Regions from separate parts of the Homo sapiens genome. Here region 1 is linked to region 2. Evidence: promoter capture Hi-C in 16 types of primary human blood cells and fetal thymus (Javierre and others, 2016). All regions are on one chromosome and are shown on one strand. Each heading gives the region's core, a stretch centred on a gene start or on the middle of the fragment in contact. The rest is flanking DNA. Distances are from core to core; before and after follow the strand shown. Region 1 overlaps PIK3C2A (phosphatidylinositol-4-phosphate 3-kinase catalytic subunit type 2 alpha). Region 2 holds the start of NCR3LG1 (natural killer cell cytotoxicity receptor 3 ligand 1).

Region 1 (5,929 bases), core at 1,529-4,028, 260 kb after region 2:
AATTCTTGCTATATTTGCTTCAAACAATAAGGACCGAGTGGTAAAGTGTGCTTGTTGTAACAAATTTAATCAATAGAGAAGTATGTAAAGTAAAAAGTCAAAGTTCCTATTCCAGTCTCTGATACAAAACACGCACACATTGTCTTTGAACAGATACAGGAACTTCAGCATGCTTTTTCCTCTTCGAGACTGTAGTGTTATCTTTTTTGTTGCTACTTTTCACCCTTGTGCTACCTTTTTTGTTAGATAATACTTTCCAGAACTGCCAGTTTTTAAATTTTTGGCAAATAGATAGTCTTTAAAAAGCTATTTTACTACTGTTTTTCATCTATTCTGTTAATAAATTTTAGTATCTTTTTGTGTGTTTATTAAAGTTATCCTAACACCATTTTATTGCATAGTCCATTCTCTCCCCAATATATACTACTACCTTTAAGTTTATATATATATCCCCAAATTTGTTTCTGGCCTGCTATAGATAGATCCTACTTGGCACCAGTATTATATGCTTTAAAGTATTGTAACTTTATAAAAGTTTAAATAGGCCGGGCGCAGTGGCTCATGCCTATAATCCCAGCACTTTGGGAGCCCGAGGCAGGTGATCACCTGAGGTCAGGAGTTCAAGACCAGCCTGGCCAACATGGTGAAACCCCGTCTCTAATAAAAATATGAAAATTAGCTGGATGTGGTGGCATGTGTCTGTAGTCCCAGCTACTCAGGAGGCTGAGGCAGGAGAATCGCTTGAACCCGAGAGGCAGAGGTTGCAGTAAGCCAATATTGTGCCATTGCGCTCCAGGCTGGGCAACAGAGCAAGACGCTGTATCAAAAAAAAAAAAAAGTTTAACTAGCCAGCAAAACAAGTTTTCCTTCACTACCCCCCATAAACCTTTTGCCTTTTTTTAACTGACTTTTTATTTATTTTTATTTTATTTTATGTTATGTTATTTTATTTTATTTTATAAATATAAAAGAGTCTCACTCTGTTGCCCAGGCTGGAGTGCAGTGGCGCAATCTCGTCTCCTGAAACCTGTGCCTCCCAGGTTCAAGCAATTCTCATGCCTCAGCTCCTGAATGGCTAGCTGGGACTACAGGCATGCGCCAGCACACCCGGCTAATTTTTGTATTTTTAGTAGAGATGGGGTTTCGCCATGTTGCCCAGGCACATGGCCAGGCGAATTCCTGGCCCCAAGTAATCCACTCATTTCGGCCTCTCGAAGTTCTGGGATTATGTGAGCCACCATGCCTGGACTATTTTATTTATTATTTATTTTTTTATTTTTTTATTTTTTTGAGACGGAGTCTTGCTCTGTTGCCCAGGCTGGAGTGCAGAGGTGTGATCTCAGCTCACTGCAAGCTCTGCCTCCCGGGTTCACGCCATTCTCCTGCCTCAGCCTCCCAAGTAGCTGGGACTACAGGTACCCACCACCACGCCCGGCTCATTTTTTGTATTTTTTTTTTTTTTTTTTTTTAGTAGAGACAGGATTTCACCATGTTAGCCAGGATGGTCTCAATATCCTGACCTTGTGATCCACCTGCCTCAGCCTTCCAAAGTGCTGGGATTACAGGCGTGAACCACTGCGCCCGGCTGCCTGGACTATTTTTATTTCTACTTTTTGAGAAACGGTCTCGCTCTATTACCCTGGCTGGAGTGCAGTGATGCAGTGTTGGCTCATTTGGCTCACTTGGCTCACTGTAGCCTTGACACCTGGGCTGAGTTGATCCTCCCACCTTAGCTTCCCAAGTAGCTGGGGCTACAGGCATGTGCCACCACAGTTGGCTAATCTTTATATTTTTTATAGAAACAGAGCCTTACTATGTTGCACAGGCTGGTCTCTAACTCCAGGGCTGAAATGATCCTCTCACCTTGGCCCCTCAAAGTGCTAGGATTATAGGCATGAGCAACCGTGCCCAGCTTACACTTTTAAGTTCTAGTTTATCTATCTTAGGATGGTTATGATCACTCTTAAAATGTAGTTAGATGTGTTATAAATACAATGACTTATATTTGCTTTTTCCTATTGGTGACATATATATTACCAAGATAAAAGTACTTGAACTGCATATAACAATTAAGCTATAAATTTCTTTTCTGTCAGGAAAGGAGGTTTTTTTGCTTCTTGGTCTTTTAGCTAAGATCAATATAGGAAAGAAGGTTTTTTTGAGATGGAGTCTCGCTCTGTTGCCCAGGCTGGAGTACAGTGCCATCTCGGTTCACTGCAACCTCTGTCTCCCAGGTTCAAGTGATTTGCCTGCCTCAGCCTCCCAAGTAGCTGGGATTACAGGCACGCACCACTATGCCCAGCTAATTTTTGTTTGTTTAGTAGAGACGTGCTTTTACTATGTTGCCCAGGCTGGTCTCAAACTCCTGACCTCAGCTGATCCACCCACCTCGGCCTCCCAAAGTGCTGGGATTACAGGCATGAGCCACTGCACCCGGCCTGGAAAGAAGGTTTTAAATATAAATTTTATGTGTTTGTGGTGTGATTTCTTTTCAGATTTATGTAGTCCGAATTTTGAGGGAAGGACAGATTGAACCATCATTTGTCTTCCGAACATTTGACGAATTTCAGGAACTTCACAATAAGCTCAGTATTATTTTTCCACTTTGGAAGTTACCAGGGTATGTATTCATCCTTGTACATTAATCCTTTTTGTAGGAAACAACTTGTTATCAAATGTAGGTAGAAAGCTTTGTGTTAACACTTAGTAAGATATTATCGGCCATGTGTGGCTTATTTTCCTTTGTGTCATAAAGACCTAATACAAAAGCAGACATAAACAAGGAACTGGAAGTTTTTGTTGAATGAATAAATGATCGGGATGTTAAAATATGAGATTTTCAGACTTCTAACTCTTATTGAAGCTTTAACTTTGCTGTCTCTACCATAGTAAGCAACACAAGATAATAATTTGGCATCTTGGTTTTGAAAAAAGTCATATCCTGCCAGGTGTGGTGGCTCACAAGCTTATAATCCCAGCACTTTGGGAGGCCGAGGCAGGGAGATACCTTGAGTCCAGGAGTTGGAGACTAGCCTGGGCACCATGGCGAAACCCCATCTCTATAAAAAATACAAAAATTAGCTGGGCTGGTGGCACATGTCTGAAGTCCCAGCTACTCAGGAGGCTGAAGTGAGAGGATTGATTGATACCAGGATGTGGAGGTTGCAGTGAGCGAAGATCACATCACTGCATTACAGCCTGGGTGACAGAATGAGACCCTGTCCCCCCCCCCCAAAAAAAAAGTCATATGCTAAATCAGTGTAGAAATAATCTATCATGGGCCATACTGAGCTCCTCTGCTAAAAAAACTGAAGCATGGCCGGGCGCGGTGGCTCACACCTATAATCCCAGCATTTTGGGAGGCCAAGGCGGGCGGATCACGAGGTCAGGAGATGGAGACCATCCTGGCTAACACGGTGAACCGTCTCTTCTAAAAAATACAAAAAATTAGCTGGGCATGGTGGCAGGCGCCTGTAGTCCCAGCTACTTGGGAGGCTGAGGCAGGAGAATGGCGTGAACCCAGAAGGTGGAGCTTGCAGTGAGCTGAGATGGCACCACTGCACTCCAGCCTGGGCAACAGAGCGAGACTCCGTCTCAAAAAAATAAATAACAAGCAAACATCATCGAGACTGTCAATCAAAATCTTAGTTTTGTATCTGATACCCTTTGGGAGTCTTCAGTTTTAATGTAGCTCAATGACCAGTAGATTTCCTGTGTCGAGTTTTTTCATATTTTCTTCAGACTAGATTTCAAAAGTGAGGATGAGGTGAAGTGGGTATTAGAGTTTGTTTCCGTGTACAGTTTCATTTTTCCACTGCCACCAAAATAAGTGGAATTAAGATTATCCTTTCAGCACCTTACTTAGGCCTTATGTTATTATTTGTGGATTTTACTGGTATATGTAATATTTATGGCTGATTGAGTAGTGATTTTATTTTTTAGGGATCAGATCTGGATAAAATATTTATGAGTGATTAAACTTGAGAAGAAATATTAGAAAATAAGTATTAAGTAGGTACAAAAGTAATTGCGTTTTTTGCCATTACTTTTAATGTCAAAAACCACAGTTACTTTTGCACCAAGCTAATAATAAATATAGGAAATCAACACATACACCTTTTCAACCAAGGCTCATAAAAGGATAATGGGTGACTGAACGATGTCATCTCCAATACTTTGAAGAGAAATCACAAAAAATTACTTATTTTATTTTGAGACGGAGACTTGCTCTGTCACCCAGGCTGGAGTGTAAGTGATCTCGGCTCACTGCAACTTCCGCTTCCCAGGTTCAAGTGATTTTTCTGCCTCAGCCTTCCGAGTAGCTGGGATTATAGGTATCTGATTATAGGCATCAGCACGCTAATTTTTGTATTTTTAGTAGAGACAGGGTTTTATCATGTTGGCCAACCTGGTTTCAAACTCCTGACCTCAAGTGATCCACCCGCCTTGGCCTCCCAAAGGCCATGAGCCACCGTGCCCGGCCACAAAATATTACTTTATAATGGATTAAGACTACTTTGTCTTTAAGTATATATGAAAAAGTGTATTTCTAAGGAAATATTGTACTTATTTAAATCCCACTTGTTTTTGTTTTTCTTTTGTAGCTTTCCTAATAGGATGGTTCTAGGAAGAACACACATAAAAGATGTAGCAGCCAAAAGGAAAATTGAGTTAAACAGTTACTTACAGAGTTTGATGAATGCTTCAACGGATGTAGCAGAGGTAACCTTACTAAATGAGAAGTAATAACATCTTATACCTTTTGTGTTACATAATATTTAAACTAATGAATTGCTTTCTCTTTATTCTTAGTGTGATCTTGTTTGTACTTTCTTCCACCCTTTACTTCGTGATGAGAAAGCTGAAGGGATAGCTAGGTCTGCAGGTGAGATTATTTTTTTTCTCTTTATTGGTAACTCATGATCTGCAAGTCTGTAACTTCTCGATGAATGTGGTAGAATGACAGCAGGCTTACTAGCTGTAGTCTGAGAATGGGAGGAGAGTATTCTTTCTAAGCCAGTCTATTTCTGAATAAATATAACTTTCCTAATAGATGTGATTACTAAAGAAGTATAAATCAATGACCTATCAGGTTGTTTACTCCTTTTTCCCCTCCCTTCTGTCCGCACCACATGTGACAGTCTTGAAAATAAAGCAAAATCCTTTTATTGCAGCTTGAACCACTACAACCAGTAAATAAAGATGAAAATATTTGTATTTTCAGATGCAGGTTCCTTCAGTCCTACTCCAGGCCAAATAGGAGGAGCTGTGAAATTATCCATCTCTTACCGAAATGGTACTCTTTTCATCATGGTGATGCATATCAAAGATCTTGTGAGTGATTACAAAGAATGATGGTTGTAGAGGAAACCCTTACCTTGGTAGGAAGCATTACTATTAAGGGACTGCTTTTCTTTTTAGGTTACTGAAGATGGAGCTGACCCAAATCCATATGTCAAAACATACCTACTTCCAGATAACCACAAAACATCCAAACGTAAAACCAAAATTTCACGAAAAACGAGGAATCCGACATTCAATGAAATGGTAAGTTAAAATCATTTCTAGAAGTTTCCTTGGTTTATTATTTTTTTAATTTTCATTTTTAAGTTCTGACGTGCGTAAGCAGGATGTGCAAGTTTGTTACATAGCTAAACGTACCATTGTGGTCTGCATACCTATCAACCTATCACCTAGGTATTAAGCCCAGCATGCATTAGCTATTTTTCCTAATGCTCTCCCTCCCACCATCCCATCCCCCAACAGGCCCCAGTGTGTGTTGTCCCCTTCTCTGTGTCCATTGTTTTGAGATTTTAAATTTTAAAACATTTTAAGGCCAGGCGCAGTGGCTCATGCCTGTAATCCTAGCAATTTGGGAGGCCGAGGTGGATACATCCCTTGAGCTCAGGAGTTTGAGACCAGCCTGGGC
Region 2 (5,266 bases), core at 834-3,333:
TGTTAGGCGAAAGCTTCCGAAACGGTTTTCCATTTCACAGTCTCTTCCGGTGCCAAAGTCCAGCACCAACGCCTGGTTCTGGGGTCCGACCCTCATGCAGCCGCCGCCGCGCTCCTCGTGGCTGGACGAGCCGGAACTAGCTTCCTCCAGGAGCTGCTGCTGCTGCTGCCGTCACTGGGCGCCGCCGCACAGCCAAACGGCGTTCCTCCCTCTCCGCTTCCCTGAGAACTCGCGGCCCTTCTCCACCACCACCAGCATCCGCGGGGACCGAGACCGGACGAAAGTGGCGGGGACCCAAGGCCCCTGAGGAGGGGGCGCCGGGCCCGGGAGGGGGCGCGGGACGGGCATGGGACCGGGTGGGCGCGGCGGCAGCCCACTGGCGCCACTTCGAGCTCGAGGAGACCCAGACTGATAGAGCGCGGAGGCGTTTCCAGACCGCAGCGACAGGCGTTTCCAGACCGCAGTGACAGGCGTTTCAAGTCCGCAGCGCGGAGACAAGCGCAATTTTGGCTTTCCACTTCACCGCCCACACTTCACTCGGAACTGTCTTATTTTCACATTGCTTATTGCAAATGTATAGAAATACTATTCACTCGTTTTTATTTCCACTTCCCTCTCCCATCGGGCAGCCATTCTAAGGTGTTTAACATGTAATTTTTGTTCTCTTTAAGGCTGTATCTTCTGTTTCTCAAACTGTGGAAATGGTATTGCATTGTATGTCCACTGTTTACTTGGCTCTACGCCTTCAACATCCGTTCACGCTGCTCGGCAAGCAGCAAGGGCGTGGTGTGAAGCTGCCGCCAAGGTCTCCACGGTGAGGTCCACACGCGGCTCTCCTCCACCTGCAGTGACTCGGGGCGCCCAGAGCGCGCCTCCGGGATTCCTACATTCCACCTCCACCACCCGGCACCCAGGAGCGTATTTTGGCCAGCCTAGTAAGGGTCAAGCAGCATCTTGTTGTTTAATTGCCATTCTTCTAGTTAGAAATGAGTTTAAATATCTCTACATACGCGTTTCAGCCTTTTAGTCTCCTGTTTAAGTTAACGCAGAACACGCCCATACGAGTTCCCAAAAAAGCAAGAGAACGTTTGAAGGTCACCACAAGATCAAAACACTCCCCTCCCTCTCTCAGTAAAGACCTAACTTAGCAAAGCCAGGAGGACCCACTGATATGCGGATGAATGATTTTTCCAATTTACCGATTCCCTGATTTTCTTCTCTCCTCCGGCCCCTCGGATGATGCGAGAGAGGCGCCAAATACCGAGGCACCAAACGCGCGACATCCAAGGAAGCACCGTTTCCGCTCTCACAGGTGTCGACCCTGCACAGGGCAGGCCTTCAATGTAAACCTGTTGCATCGGGGACTCCGCTTCTCACAAAGGAGGGACGCTTGAAAATAGAGCCCCCAGGCCGGGCGCGGGGGCTCACGCCTGTAATCCCCGCACTTTGGGAGGCCGAGGCGGCTGGATCACTAGGTCAAGGAGACCATCTTGGCTAACACTGTGAAACCCCGTCTCTACTAAAAGTACAAAAAATTAGCCGGGCATGGTGGCGGGCGCCTGTGGTCCCAGCTACTCGGGAGTCTGAGGCAGGAGAATGGCGTGAACCTGGGAGGCGGAGCTTGCAGTGAGCCGAGATCGCGCCACTTCACTCCAGCCTGGGAGACAGAGCGAGACTCCGTCTCAAAAAAAAAAAAAAAAAAAAAGGAGAAGAAATAGAAAAGAAAATAGAGCTCTCAGCCCCCAGGAAGTTGAGGTCCCCTGGCGGGATGCTAGGGAGCCGACCCGCGAGGACCCTCTGGCGCCAGGAGCCCCCGCCCCAGCCCACCCCAGCCGCCCCCTACCTTCGGTCGTCAGCGCCCACAGCAGAATCAGGAGCGCCGCGCACGTGGAGGCGGCAGCCCTCCACGTCATCGCCGCGGCTGCTGTTGTGTAATTTTTTTCGCCGAGTGGGAGCAGGCGGCCCGGTAGAAACCAAGGGCAGGGGGAGACCTCTGTTGCGTAAAGAGTTGACGGAGACACAGCCGGGATTTCCAGCCGGCGCTTTTGCACATCCCACTTCTTCAGATCCCTTCGGCAACTGCGAAGTCGCCTGGATTTCCCAGGTTCGCACTGCAGGAAGCCAGGCGCGTGACCAGCCCCACCCGCGCCGCACTTTAGCCCGGGGGCGGGCACCGGCCGGGGAATCCTCCCTCGCCTCCGCCCGCGGCACGAGGTTGCGCGGTTACAGCCCCGGTGCCTCTCGCGAGCGGCTCTGCGGTCCAGGACTCGGGGCATCCTCTGGGTTCGCTTAGTAAATTGAGACCGGGATCCAAGTGGCCCGGGGCGCTGCTCTAAGGAAGATGCTGACCGCAGTCGGTGATTGCGAGAGCAGGTGCACGCGTCCAGAGCGACATCTTACCGTTGGCGCGATAAACTTACATTACTTTAAAAACCAAAAACAACAAAAATTTAGCATTAAGTCGAAAGGCAAATTAAATCCCCAGGACAATTCAGTTAAACGCCTGAAGGTGGCCCTTAATTTCCCATTTCTACTAATCAAGAAGTGGCTTGCGACCTCCTGAAGCAAACCCAAATATTCTCATTCGGTGATTAAGTTTTACCACCTCTACACCAGTTTTTAAATCAATTTAACCGCAAAGTTCAGAACCCAAGTGGCACAGTAAATGTGTGTGCATTTATAACGCAGAACCTGCATTCTTTCCCCAGCAACCTGCATTCCATTTGTCTCATTGACCCTACTGCATTTTTCCTTCGCATCATTAAAAAGGATGTAATGTACAGAAAAGCACAGACAGACCTAAACTCCAATGCCAACCATGCCATCTGCTGATTATAAGACAGTGGGTAAGTGACCTCATATCCCCAGCCTGTTCACATGTCTCTAAAACTGAGAGAGTAAAAGCTTCCTTTCCAGGGTTAGAGACACTGTCACTGACTAAGCAAATAGTCACATTCTCACTTATCTGCAGAACAGAGTGCATACAGAAAGAGCTCAGAAGTGAAAGATGCGCAGAGTGCCCACAGTGGCAGCAACTAGCTGAGGGGCCTTCAGATCGCAGCCTTCCGGACCACCGTTATAACAGGTAGAGATATGCAAGGTTAAGTCCAGCTATTGAATTTTTAAAACCTAAATTACACCTCTTCTCAACCTCTGCCTCCTCCAAGGAGCCTTACCTGAGGAGACATCCTTGTCTGGTATTAGTGACATCATTAAATAACATTCCCAATGGAGGTATATGACGACTTCTTATACATGCCCAGAATAGTGATTCACAAAGTTGTGACACATACACATCACCCTGTAGAAATTATCAAATTACTCTTTTGGTAATTTTTACTGTTTTGGTAATTTTTTTGTACCCTTTTTACTCTAAAGGGTAAAACCGGCAGGTTTCTCTATTTATATTTCATTAGAATGAAAAGTCATTACCTGTGTTTTCGTTTTTACCAATATCATGTCTATTTGAACATCTTTTTTTTTTTTTTTTTTTTTTTTTTTTTTTTGGTGAGACAGAGTCTCGTTCTGTTGCCCAGGCTGGAGTGCAGTGGCGTGATCTCAGCTCACTGCAACCTCTGCCTCCCAGGTTCAAGAGATTATTGTGCCTCAGCTTCATCCTCCCAAGTAGCTGGGATTGCAGGTGCCTGCCACCACACCCAGCTAATTTTTGTATTTTTAGTAGAGACAGAGTTTCACCATGTTGGCCAGGCTGGTCTTGAACTCCTGACCTCAAGTGATCCGCCCACCTCGGCCTCCCAAAGTGCTGGGATCACAGGCGTGAGCCACCACACCCGGCCTGAACATGTCTTTTAATACTTTTGCCAACTTTCCATTCAACCCTAAAGCACACAGCAGATACCTCACGATGCTTCTCAAACAAAATAAGCATATATTCTCAGGAATTATTTATGGAAAACTCTGACTTTCTGTGTTCTTTATTGGTGCACAGCATTGAGACACGGTATTCAAATGCTGGTTGACACTGAGGTCATTTTTATGACACATTGCATCCAACTTGCTGTTGGAATATCACATACAATTTTGGAACCATATTGTAACACATATTGAAAATATCCAACAAGTAATCAGAATGGTAAATAAGGGACATTCACTCAAAGACATGTATCCAGGGACAGTATGGCAGAGACTGCTATTTGTCAACCAATATCTGTTTTCCCCTTTTTCCTTGAAAAAGGCCTCCAATATTTTCCTGGGCACAGGGATCAATAAAAGACTGCATTTCCTAATCATTCTGGAACTAAATGTGGCCATATGACCAAGTTCTGGCCAAAGTAATATAAATGGAAATGTTCTGTGTGACTTCTGGGAAATGTCCTTAAAGAGAAGGAAATGATCTTCTTTTCCCCTTCCTTCTTTCTGACAGCAGGATAGCAGATGTAATGCCTAGAGCTTGAGGAGACATCTTGCACCACAGTGTGGAAACCATGCACTAGGACAAAGGGACAGCAAAAGAGAAGGGTTCTGGGTCCCTGATGACTCGTGAAACCTCTACCAGCTTTAGAAGGACACCTCTGGACCTGTGGAACATAAGAAATAAAGTCAGTAAGCTACTCTTATTTAAAATGTTCTCATTTTCAGCAGAACCTAATCCTAATCACTACAAATGAGTAAAGGAGCTGAGCCCATTTTGTTTGGAGTAGCCTGGGGGTTTAAGAAATGGTACCAGTCTTGTAAGTCTCTGAAAAGCTAACACCTGTGTATGTGAGTACACATGTTAGGTGATGTTCTTGAAGGCAAAAGCAAGTTGGAGAGAGATTTTGGCTCAGTATAAGAAAAGCTTTCTGCTGGGCGCGGTGGCTCACACCTGTAATCCCAGCACTTTGGGAGGCCGAGGCGGGTGGATCACCTGAGGTCAGGAGTTCGAGACCAGCCTGGCCAACATGGTGAAACCCTGTCTCTACTAAAAATACAAAACTTAGCCAGGTGTGGTGGCAGACGCCTGTAATCCCAGCTACTCGGGAGGCTGAAGCAGGAGAATCACTTGAACCCGGGAAGCGGAGGTTGCAGTGAGCCGAGATCAATGCCGTTGCACTCCAGCCTGAGTGACAAGTGTAAGACTCTGTCTCAAAAAAAAAAAGGAAAGGAAAGCTTTTCTATTAAAGGAATGGGACATTTCAAGTTGCCCCTCAGCAACAATTTATTGAACTCTGCCAGGCACAATCTAGGAGTGACGAATTCAGCGATGGCTAAAGCACAGTCCTTAGCTTCAAAAAATCTGTCTAGGCCAGGTGTAGTGGCTTATGCC

The links. The method cuts DNA at HindIII sites, captures the fragments that hold promoters and counts their contacts. A CHiCAGO score of 5 or more calls a contact.
Region 1: a fragment that was not itself captured here is called in contact with the fragment with the promoter of NCR3LG1 in region 2 in 5 of 17 cell types (naive CD4 T cells, activated CD4 T cells, M1 macrophages and 2 more); the score reaches 7.9 in naive CD4 T cells.

What each region holds. Positions count from the first base shown.
Region 1 is chr11:17,090,952-17,096,880 of GRCh38, reverse strand. It overlaps PIK3C2A (phosphatidylinositol-4-phosphate 3-kinase catalytic subunit type 2 alpha), which reads left to right. Exons shown (of 33, transcript NM_002645.4): 28 at 2,496-2,620; 29 at 4,605-4,722; 30 at 4,813-4,885; 31 at 5,225-5,334; 32 at 5,422-5,547. Among named protein-coding and RNA genes, the nearest start is that of RPS13, 16 kb to the right of the region's middle. The HindIII fragment of the contact is 174 bases long and covers 2,692-2,865 here.
Region 2 is chr11:17,348,617-17,353,882 of GRCh38, reverse strand. NCR3LG1 (natural killer cell cytotoxicity receptor 3 ligand 1) reads right to left here and starts at 2,083. Exons shown (of 5, transcript NM_001202439.3): 1 at 1,844-2,083. The coding sequence starts at 1,913. It overlaps LOC105376576 (a long non-coding RNA gene), which reads left to right and starts at 2,017. Exons shown (of 3, transcript XR_931094.3): 1 at 2,017-2,104; 2 at 2,709-2,846; 3 at 2,972-3,070. It also overlaps a transcript of NUCB2 not described here. RefSeq lists enhancers at 668-717, 942-1,543, 1,544-2,145 and a silencer at 2,142-2,261. The HindIII fragment of the contact is 2,891 bases long and covers 16-2,906 here.